4 separate regions of the Homo sapiens genome follow, and all the other regions are linked to region 1. Evidence: promoter capture Hi-C in 16 types of primary human blood cells and fetal thymus (Javierre and others, 2016). All regions are on one chromosome and are shown on one strand. Each heading gives the region's core, a stretch centred on a gene start or on the middle of the fragment in contact. The rest is flanking DNA. Distances are from core to core; before and after follow the strand shown.

What was found. The method cuts DNA at HindIII sites, captures the fragments that hold promoters and counts their contacts. A CHiCAGO score of 5 or more calls a contact.
Region 2: a contact is called between a fragment that was not itself captured here and the fragment with the promoter of TOM1L1 in region 1, in 1 of 17 cell types (endothelial precursors). The highest score is 5.6, in endothelial precursors.
Region 3: a fragment that was not itself captured here is called in contact with the fragment with the promoter of TOM1L1 in region 1 in 1 of 17 cell types (endothelial precursors); the score reaches 6.1 in endothelial precursors.
Region 4: a contact is called between a fragment that was not itself captured here and the fragment with the promoter of TOM1L1 in region 1, in 1 of 17 cell types (endothelial precursors). The highest score is 7.8, in endothelial precursors.

What each region holds. Positions count from the first base shown.
Region 1 is chr17:54,899,585-54,902,113 of GRCh38, reverse strand. TOM1L1 (target of myb1 like 1 membrane trafficking protein) reads right to left here and starts at 1,262. Exons shown (of 16, transcript NM_005486.3): 1 at 1,191-1,262. The coding sequence starts at 1,248. LOC124904033 (a long non-coding RNA gene) reads left to right here and starts at 1,377. Exons shown (of 2, transcript XR_007065854.1): 1 at 1,377-2,529. RefSeq lists enhancers at 948-1,037, 1,058-1,167 and a silencer at 1,248-1,587. The HindIII fragment of the contact is 6,286 bases long and covers 720-2,529 here.
Region 2 is chr17:51,455,473-51,458,001 of GRCh38, reverse strand. No RefSeq gene overlaps it. Among named protein-coding and RNA genes, the nearest start is that of LINC02073, 21 kb to the right of the region's middle. The HindIII fragment of the contact is 1,051 bases long and covers 740-1,790 here.
Region 3 is chr17:51,752,660-51,755,188 of GRCh38, reverse strand. All of the region lies in intron 3 of CA10 (carbonic anhydrase 10), which reads left to right. Among named protein-coding and RNA genes, the nearest start is that of LINC02073, 320 kb to the right of the region's middle. The HindIII fragment of the contact is 5,749 bases long and covers 1-2,529 here.
Region 4 is chr17:51,770,296-51,772,824 of GRCh38, reverse strand. All of the region lies in intron 3 of CA10 (carbonic anhydrase 10), which reads left to right. Among named protein-coding and RNA genes, the nearest start is that of LINC02073, 340 kb to the right of the region's middle. The HindIII fragment of the contact is 2,633 bases long and covers 1-2,529 here.

The DNA.
Region 1 (2,529 bases), core at 13-2,512:
TCTCTACAAGAAAGTGAGTTCCCTCAGGTTTGAGACCACGTCTCACCTTGGCCTCACCAGTGCCTGATCCAGGTCCAGGCACATAGCTGACAGTTAGTCCATGTTTACAGAATTAAAAAATTAAGCAGAAGAACTGCTGAAGTTTCGTTTGCCTATGAAGACACAGTCTGAATCCATTTCTGCTTGGGGTTCATTCTAATATCCAAAAAAGCACAGCCATTAAGGGAAAGCATCTCCTCAATGGTAGCTACTCTGACCATCTTATAAGGATGTGTAAACTAAGGTTCTGTTTAAGTGGTGTGTTCGGTGTCACAGCAGTTAGTAGAGCTGTGATCTAAATTTTCCAAATCTGGGCCTCTTTACTACAACTACTAGGTTCTCACGATTTCATCACCCCACTAAGTTCCTGACATCATCACACTTTGCCTGGCATTAATATGCACTCGTGCCACACCCAATTCCCAAGGGAGGAATCAGGGAAAAGAAGGAGCAGTGAGCTGGTGCTGGTAGGAGTCCAATCACTGGCTTCTACATACATCATGCAAGGTACATCCGGAGGAGAGAGAAATCATTTAGGTGGATGCTGGTGTAGTCCCTAGTGGCCTGCGAGAGACCTCCGTGGCCCCAGATGGCTCCTATGTTCCCCTCCTCTTCACTCCAATGCCAAGCATTTTCATTCTCTTTGTTTACCCAGAAAAGTAATCCAGGTTGTATAAGCTTGGCACTAGAGAAAACTGGTTTGGGGAGACCTGCCCCTCACAGTAAGGCCACATCACTTAGTCTCCCAGAGCCTCCTCTTCTGATCTGTAAAACGGGCATAACAATACCGTGCCCTGGAGAATGTGCCTTTAGGAATAACTTCCCCTACCGAGAAGTTTCTGGTGTCTCCTCGTGGAGGCCCAAACACTCCATGCCTGACTCCCGCGGTTCACCTGTTTGGTTCCACTCCCCAGGCGGCATCGAAAGGAAGGTACATTTTTGAGGACTGAGGTTCTACAGTGAGTTGGCCAAGAAGGAAACGACGAAAGGGGGCCGGGTGGAATGCGGGTGCCTTGGGAAAGTTGCGGGGGGAGGGGAATAATTTTTTCAAGTTGGACTAACTCCGTCCTCTGCAGGCCGAGAATGGATCAAGCAGGAAAGGATCCCACGGTCCCCTGCCTGCCTGGGCGTCTCTCCCCGCGCCTCCTTACCTATGAGGTGGCCCACGGAGGTCGCGTAGGGATCCCGGTGACTCTTGCCAAACGCCATGGTAGCGCCAGAGGGCCGGGCCCAGGAAATCCGCCTCCACCGCTCTCCGGCTCCCGACTCCACCCGCTCGGTACCCTTGGCTCCTCCTCTTCGCCCGAGCGCTTCCCGGGCTCTGGCAGAGGCGGTGCGTTCTGCGCTGCCGCTGCGGGGCGCGGGCACCGAGCGTGAGGAGCTGGGCGCGGGGCAGGGACGCGAGGGCGGGGCTTCGGGACGCCCAGCGCACCTGCAGCGCGCCCTGCGGGACCCGCGAGGAGGCTGCGCTGCCGGCTGCAGGTGGTACAGGCGGGTAGTGGCGGGTGTATGGAGCCTGCGAGAGTGGCGCGGCCGCCCGCTCGGATCCCAGGTGGGCTTTTCGCCCCGTGCAGGAGGAGCAGGCAGCCCAGAATCTCCAGCCTGGGAATTAGAGACCCAGGCTTTGATCCTGCCGCTTGCTGGGCACCTTGTCATTCTTCTCTGCGCCTCTTTGGCTGCCCTGGGTAGACCAAAGATAATAGGGGGTTAATAACACAAACCTCAGAATTATGAGAATTAAGGGAAGGACGTAACCGATTATGTCGGTGTCTGGTACCCACAAAATAAATAGTTAGCCACTGAATATACTGAATAACTAGAAATATTTACCCTCGACCTGCCTTTGTCCTAGAGATCCGGGAGGGGAGGTGTGCGCCCTGCCCTTTAAAGTTGTGGTCATGTCTAGGAGGAAGGATTGGCTTCGAATTTAGGGCTTCCCAGGAGCAGGCCCTCTTTGTCTCTCTACTATTTCCTCGAGGGACCACAGGGCGCCGCCTCGCAAGCTCTTGTTTTCTAACCCCACCTTCTGGGAGCCGTGTTTTCCAGCCTGATTCTAAAAACGGGAGAGGGGCTTTCCGTTTCTTCTGGCAAGGAGTATGCTTGGCTTTAGGCCTGCTTTGTAATGTAGGTTGGAATCTGAGAAGCCCAACACCTTTCCAGCTGCCCCTTCAGAACCAGAATTTATTTCCTATTCCTTTGCATTCAATTAACATCTGATTGGCGATGTTAACAATCTCCAGCCAGCAGGAGCCTGCCAGAGAGTGAGGTGTCCCCAGGCGATGTCAGATAGCCATAGATGAGCTCCTGGTGCTTGTAGATCCTGTTTCCTGTAGTCTAACTGCCACCCATTTCAAGTCTGTTTTTTAGCCCTGGAGATGGTGACTAGGGAGACGAAGGGGACCTGTTTTGACTTATGTCCGTGGTCTTGTGAATTTTAATATAGAGGTCAAAACCAATTGCCATGCACTCCAGGAGGCTAACATTTAATTA
Region 2 (2,529 bases), core at 16-2,515, 3.4 Mb after region 1:
AGACAAGATTTCACCGTGTCGGCCAGGCTGGTCTTGAACTTCTGACCTCAGGTGATCTGCCCGCCTCAGCCTCCCAAAGTGCTGGGACTACAGGCATGAGCCACTGTACCCGACCTTCATGTCTTTTTATAAGGGAACTCTTTGGCACCTTCCATCCTGTGAGGACACCTCAAGAAGGCACTGTCTATAAGGAATGGGCCCTCACCAGACACCAAATCTGCTGGCAACTTGATCTTGGAGTTCCTAGCCTCCAGAACTGTGAGAAATAAGTGTTGTTTATAAACCACCAAAAGTCTAAAGTATTTTGTTAAAGCAGCCTGAAGCAATATAAACATTCCTTGCCATTTTTAACCATCCTAATGTTGAATGTCTTACCCCTGAATAATTTCATTAATAGTAAATTTAATTTTTAAAAGTCTGCAAATTGGTGAGGACCACTTGTATAAAATTATATATTTGGCCACTAATTGCATCTCAAATTGATACAGCTATTGCATTCAAATAAAAGAGTTCTCAACTCCCTGACTTTTAAGGAACCTCAATTAAACCTGTTTATAATAAGCTGGTTCCCTTGAGCAGCCTCAGGGATGGAACAGAGAGTGAAGTTGTGTGGTTAATGCAAAGGTGTCTCTCTCAATCAAAAACAGACACTAAGAACCCTATGTTAAAATGCACAAAGCAAATCTGGTTCCTTCTGAGACTACAGTCTTGTTGACCACGTCAGAGAAAGAGTTAAGCTTCTTGTTCCCCCTTTGAACTTCATGCAAATATAAATGGTAAGTGCAGAAAATGTAGCAGCTTTGGATTTGTGTCATAAATCACAAGCATGAGCAGCAGCCTTTCTTCTGGCAATTTTAAAGTTTATTATGTTCTGACTCATGTAGTCAAGGATGACATCAGCACAAATTCAGTTATGATATATAAGGTGATGACAACCCTGACTGATGCCCACTTTTAGCTTCCCATTTCTGAAAGTTGAAATGTGCCCTTTCTCCCTCCAAATGCAGTAAATTCACATTGACTTAGAAGACACCTTTCCAAATAAGATATCAAACTTTATGTAAGGGCATTTCTCTTGAAGGCAGTGGGTACTATCACTGGCCCAGTTGGCTGCTCCGCTCCTGAAGAATTCTTCAGAGTGTGACTAAGGCTAGGAGCCCCTTCCCAGTAGTTGTGGATCTTACTATAGGGTAGTTTAAAACTAGACAGATGGCCGGGCACAGTGGCTGACACCTGTAATCCCAGCACTTTAGGAGGCTGAAAGAATCACTGGAGGCCAGGAGTTGAAGAATGGCCTGGGCAACATGGCAAAACCCTGTCTCTACAAAAAATTTTAAAACTTAGCCAGGTGTGGTGGTGTGCACTGTAGTCCCAGCTGCTTGGGAGGCTGAAGTGGAGGATCACCCGAGCCCAGGAGGTTCAGGCAGCAGTGAGCTATGATTGTGCCACTGCACTCCAGCCTGGGCAACAGACCAAGACCCTGTCTCTCAAATTAAAATAAAGGTAAATAAATAAATGAAAGTAGATAGAAACCAATCTGGCTGCCATTCGCTTGAGAGATTTTGTCATCTTCATAAACCCAAAGGGTCTGAAAGGAAAGTTAACAGCTACCAGGCCTCTCTCAGAAGTGCCCAGGATCAAGACTGTAGTCGTTTACCTTCAAGATGGCCACCATCAACTCTTTTCTCCCTACAGACATGTGTTCCCCTCCTATCAAGAGGTGGAGCCTGTTTCTGGGTGCAGGAATAAATAGAAAATATTTCCCGAGGCATTAGCTCATAGGCAAAGCTTTTCTTGAGTCCTCCAGGCTATTATGAGCTTTCTCCACCGGGATATTTTACCTTCCTCCACCGCAGCACTTACCTCATTATGTGTAACTCTTCTATACCCACAAGACCGCAAGCCCCTTGACAGTTCCAAGCAGAAAATCTGGCAGGTGATGGGCAGCATAGCACAGTGATTAACTCCAAGGGTTTGGAAGATATCCTACACCACATTGGAATCCTGACTCTCCCACTAAGTTTTAGAAGTATGACTTTAGCCAAGTTATTTGACTTCTCTGATTCTTAGTTTCTCCATCTGCAAAAGGGGGTAAGAATATCTCATAATGTTGTGTGGTGTGAGCATTAGATGAGATAATGTGTGCAAATGACTCAGCACAGGGCCTGGCCACAGCCTTCACTAGGTGGTAGCTATTATTATTAGGTACTCAATGCATGTTATGGAACAAATGAAAACACTTCTACCCTCTCTCTGGCCCTGTGAGATGGCTTCTTGAATTTCTCTTCTGTCATCCCCTTTAACTGATTGCTGTTCACTTCAGCTACACAGTATTATTACCTGGGAAGCCTTAAAAAGTCAGATACCAAAAATAAATAATAATTTTTAAAGCATACACACACACACACACACACACACACACACACACCCCATTCTGATAGCCAGATTGCCTTTCAGGCCAATGAAATCAGAATATCTGGAGGTGAGACCCAGGCATCAGGAGCTTTTATAACCTCTAAGTGACCCCAA
Region 3 (2,529 bases), core at 16-2,515, 3.1 Mb after region 1:
GGATAAACCTGCCTTGTTCTTTAACAAGAAAAGTTAAATTATTTCTTTATAATTGTTCTATCATTCAGATGTACATCTTTTCAAACTGGTTCTCCTTCTATGTGACTGACATTTGGAAAACAGTCTTTGTGTAGCTGACTTTTAAAATTATGTGATGTAGGAAATATATAGATAAAATGCATATGTGTTTGTATCATATATAATATACATATGTGTATATATAATATATACAGATATAGATAATGTAGCTATATAATATATGCATGTATATATACACACACGCATATTTGTATTATATATATAACCCTTTATGTGTGGTATCAGAACAACTATTTGGTTAAGAGCTATTTGAACTGATGTAATAAAGAAGGCAAATAGAATTTGAAAATAAGTGTAGTGGTTAATTGATGTGTTAACTTGGCTGGGCCATGGCACTCAAATATTTGGTCAAACATTAATTGGGATATTTCTGTGAGAATGTCTATGGATGAGATAAACATTTAAATCAGTGGAATTTGAGTAAAGCAGATTGCCCTGCATAAGGTTGATGGGCCTCATCCAATCAGTGGAAGGCCTCAAGAGATCAAAAAGACTGACCTCCCTGAATGAAAAGGAATTCTGCAGGGTACCTTCAGAGGTAAACTACAGCATCAGCTCTTGCCTCCAGCCTGCAGGCTTTTGGACTTGCCAATGTCCATAATTAGATGAGACAATTTCTTAAAATCTCTTTATTTTACGTGATATATATATATATATATATATATATATATATATATATATATATATATCACACACACACAGTAGTATGTATGTGTGTGTGCGCATGTGTTGTCTCTTTATTTTACCCGTCTTTATACATATATATGTACACACACACACACACACACACACACACACACACACTATTCTGTTTCTCTAGAGAACCCTGAGTAAACAGTAAGTAATCCTAAACATCCTGAGCTCCAAACTACTGTGAGGCTCCTACACTCTCAACCCACCTCTTGAAGAAAATGCTGTAATATTACATTGTTAAATAACCAGCTGTGGCTGGGAGTGGTGACTCATGCCTGTAATCCCAGCACTTTGGGAGGCCGAGGCAGGTGGATCACCTGAGGTCAGGAGTTCGAGACCAGCCTGGCCAACATGGTGAAACCCCGTCTCTACTAAAAATATAAAAATTAGCTGGGCGTGATGGCAGGTACCTGTAATCCCAGCTACTTGGGAGGCTGTGGAGGGAGAATCACTTGAACCCGGGAGGTGGAGGTTGCAGTGAGCCAAGATCACGCCACTGCACTCCAGCCTGGGCGACAGAGTGAGACTCCGTATCAAAAAACAGAAACAAAAACTGCACAACCTAATAATTTCCAGTGGTTAAAAGCACAGGCTTTAGAGCCAAAGATAGCTGAGGTCAAGTTCTGGCCCCCGACTGATGGCAGTTTGCTTCTATGGAAAGTGCCATAGAAACCAGGTAAGACAGGTATGCCCTGTGGGAGGCCTTCCCTCCACATATGGGTTTAGCCTAATATCTTCCCACTGAGAATAAGCAAATGGTGCTGGGTTTGGTGAGGGAGAAATTGTGATGATTAACAGAGAAAATTCAGGTTCAGAATTTACCGCCACCCCCTGTGGCACCCAGTAAAGTTCTAACCAAGATGCCATCTTTATGAACAGGATTGTGGCTGAATTTCAAAGAATGAAAATTTTTCCTACCTTAAAAATGCATTGACCAAATTTATTTCCCTCTAAACATGATAGTGTCACCAGAATGAAAAAAGATGACCCCATTTATTAGAGGCCCCAAATCACTGACTGCTGCAAAGCACTGTGTTTGCTATGCAAAGACATCTAATTTTGCAAAATAAATACACCAGGCATACAATTTTTGCTTTGCAAAAGAACATAGTGCTTCTAGATGGTCTCAAGTTATCAAGATAATATTGATTGACATACAACCTGGACAGGCACATCTGTGGAGCACCTATTACCTGCTTCCCTCAATATACGTAGCTCCAACCAGTCTCAAACCAGTATGAATTCCGCAGGTGAGGAAATTGAGGGACTTCCTTGACCTTCAGGTTTCTCGAAGCCTCCTCCTGGGATGAACTTCAGCAGGCTAGCATCCAATTATAGTCCTCTCTTTTCCTGAAAAAGATCCCACTTTTTCTGGAACTGCCTAAGATCTGCAAATAGAGACTGGAGAAGAAATGAAAATCCCCAACATATTTTTTATTTACTTGTTTTTTATTTTATTTATTTATTTATTTATTTTTGAGATGCAGTCTCACTCTGTCACCCAGGCTGCAGTGCAGTGGCGCGATCTCAGCCACTGCAACCTCTGCCTCCTGGGTTCAAGTGATTCTCCTGCCTCAGCCTTCCGAGTAGCTGCAGGTGCCTGCTACCACACCCCGCTAATTGTATTTTTAGTAGAGACGGGGTTTCGCCATGTTGGCCAGGCTGGTCTCAAGCCCCTGACCTCAGGTGATCCGCCTGCCTCGACCTCCCAAAATGTTAGGATTACAGGCATGAGCC
Region 4 (2,529 bases), core at 14-2,513, 3.1 Mb after region 1:
AAAATTCCATTTCATTTTGTGACTTCAACAAGGTACTTGAACTTGAGTCTCAATTTCCACATTTGTAAAATGAGGCTAATACCATGTATCTCACATGACAGTTATGACAATTAAGTTACATAACTGTGTTAGCTGGCCTAGTTCAAAAAAAAAAAAATGCTTCTCTCTTTTCCCTCTCCTTGTCTTCTCTGTTCCCATGGCAATTGTAGGCCTTCCCTCATTTTAACCTGGTGGCTGTGGTGGCTGGCCTGTCTCTGTGTCTGTCTTTCCATCATTCCCATTTGGAAATTCCTCCAGGATTTAGTCAATATTTTAGTTCTCTTCATGGCCTTAATTACTGAAACATGAAATGTTAGGGATATATATATATCAAAAACAGCCAAGTTTAGGAAATCTTATTTTATATCACTTTTTTTTGCTTCGTATCATTCAGCACTTTCATTGTAAAATAATAAGCAAGTGCATATACTCATTTGCATTTATTTGCATATATCTTTATAATTGTTACTTGTGTGTGCATCATAGTATCAGCAGTAATGGTAATACTAGTAATTGTTAATAGTAACTATGAGTACCTAATGTTTGTTAAGTAATTATTATGTGTTATGTACTCTTTCAACTATCTTTACATGTATTACCTTATTTAATCTTCACAACAAAACAGTAGCCACTATTGTTCTCCCCATATACAGATGAGGAAAGTGAGGCACAGAGAGGTTCAGCTATGTATGAGAATGAAATAGAGGAAAGTAAGTAGGAGGAGACATAGGATTCCAGCAGCAATGCAGAGCACTCCACGAGGCATCACAGGGATGGTAATTGAACCCTGATTCTGCAGAGCACGTGGCCACAGATGAGGCACATACACTCTGTGAGAGGCTTTGTCCTCACCTGTGAGATGGGATGCCTGCTCCTACTTCAGAGATTCCTGTGTGGGAACCATAGGAGAATGAGTGTGTGAACACTCTCTGTAAAATGGTAAAGAGCCATATTGATGTTAGCCAGCTTGGTATTGGTCAAGCCTCGCCTCACTGGTCTCCTCCCCTCCTGCCCCATTCTGCCACTCAGAACCTAGGAAACCATTGTTCCAAGTACAAGTTCAATCAGTGCTTGCTAAGTCAACAGGAAAGAGTCAGGGCTGGCTAACATTCACTTTCTCAGATTTAGGAAGAAGTGGCAAGGCTGAGACATAGTGGGACAGCCACCCATGCCAAAAGGGGGAAAGGCAGAACTTGAGATTTCCAAGTGTATGACTACTGAGTTTCATGGAAAATCGGAGTCTCCAGACCCAACATAGCCATTACAGAGAGTAGGCAATGCTGGGTGTGGCATGGGAAAACTCCATTGTCTTAATTCTGGGAGGTGATATAATAGGGAGAAGTCTTAGCACTGGGCAAGCCTGGCTTGGTGACCTGATTTTATCACCATCTTGCTCTGTGATTTTGGACAGGTCAATCATCCTCCATTATAAGGAGCACCTTTTCACATCTATAAAACAAGTGTAACATTAGTGATATAGTTTGGATATTTGTCCCAGTCCAAATCTCACGTTGAAATATAATCTCCAGTATTGGAGATGGAGCCTAGTGGGAGGTGTTTGGATCATAGGGGTGGATCCCTCATGAATGGCTTGGTGAAGAGTGAGCTCTCACTCTGGGTTCACAGGAGATCTGGTCTTTTTTTTTTTTTTTTTTTTTTTTTTGAGACGGAGTCTTACTCTGTCGCCAGACTGGAGAGCAGTGGTACGATCTCAGCTCACTGCAACCTCCGCTTCCTGGGTTCAAGCGATTCTCCTGCCTCAGCCTCCTGAGTAGCTGGGACTACAGACATGCACCACCACGCCAGGCTAATTTTTGTATTTTTAGTAGAGATGGGGTTTCACCATGTTGGCCAGGATGGTCTCGATCTCTTGACCTCGTGATCTGCCTGCCTCAGCCTCCCAAAGTGCTGTGAATACAGGCGTGAGCCACTGCGCCCGGCTGAGATCTGGTCTTTGTAAAAGTGTGTGGCACCTCCCCCACCACTATCTCTCTCTTGCTCCCACTTGGCCATGTGAGATGCCTGCTCCCTCTTTGCCCTCCACCATGAATAAAGGCCCCCTGAGGCCTCCCCAGAATCCAAGCTGATGACAGTGCTACACTTCCTCTGCAAGCTGCAGAACCATGAGCCAACTAAACCTCTTTTCTTTATAAATTACCCAGCCTCAGGTATTTGTGTATAGCAATGCAAGAACAGCCTAATACAATCAGTACCAGCTCACAGGATTACTGTGATGACTCAGTGAGATACTGTGCTCAGCACAGGGTCTTGCACATAGGAAACAGAGGAAACAGTTGAGCAAATTTGCACAATACAGTTTAGCAAATATTAGTATTAATGGTGGTATTATTTCGTGCCCCTCCAAGCCTAGGGTCTCGGGGGAGGGTTTGTGTCTCCTTAGTTTTCATTGTTTAGGGGTTCTTTGTTTCTCCATAGCATATGGAGAAAACATAGGATATTATAGCCATATTTGGTAACTTGCTGGTCACC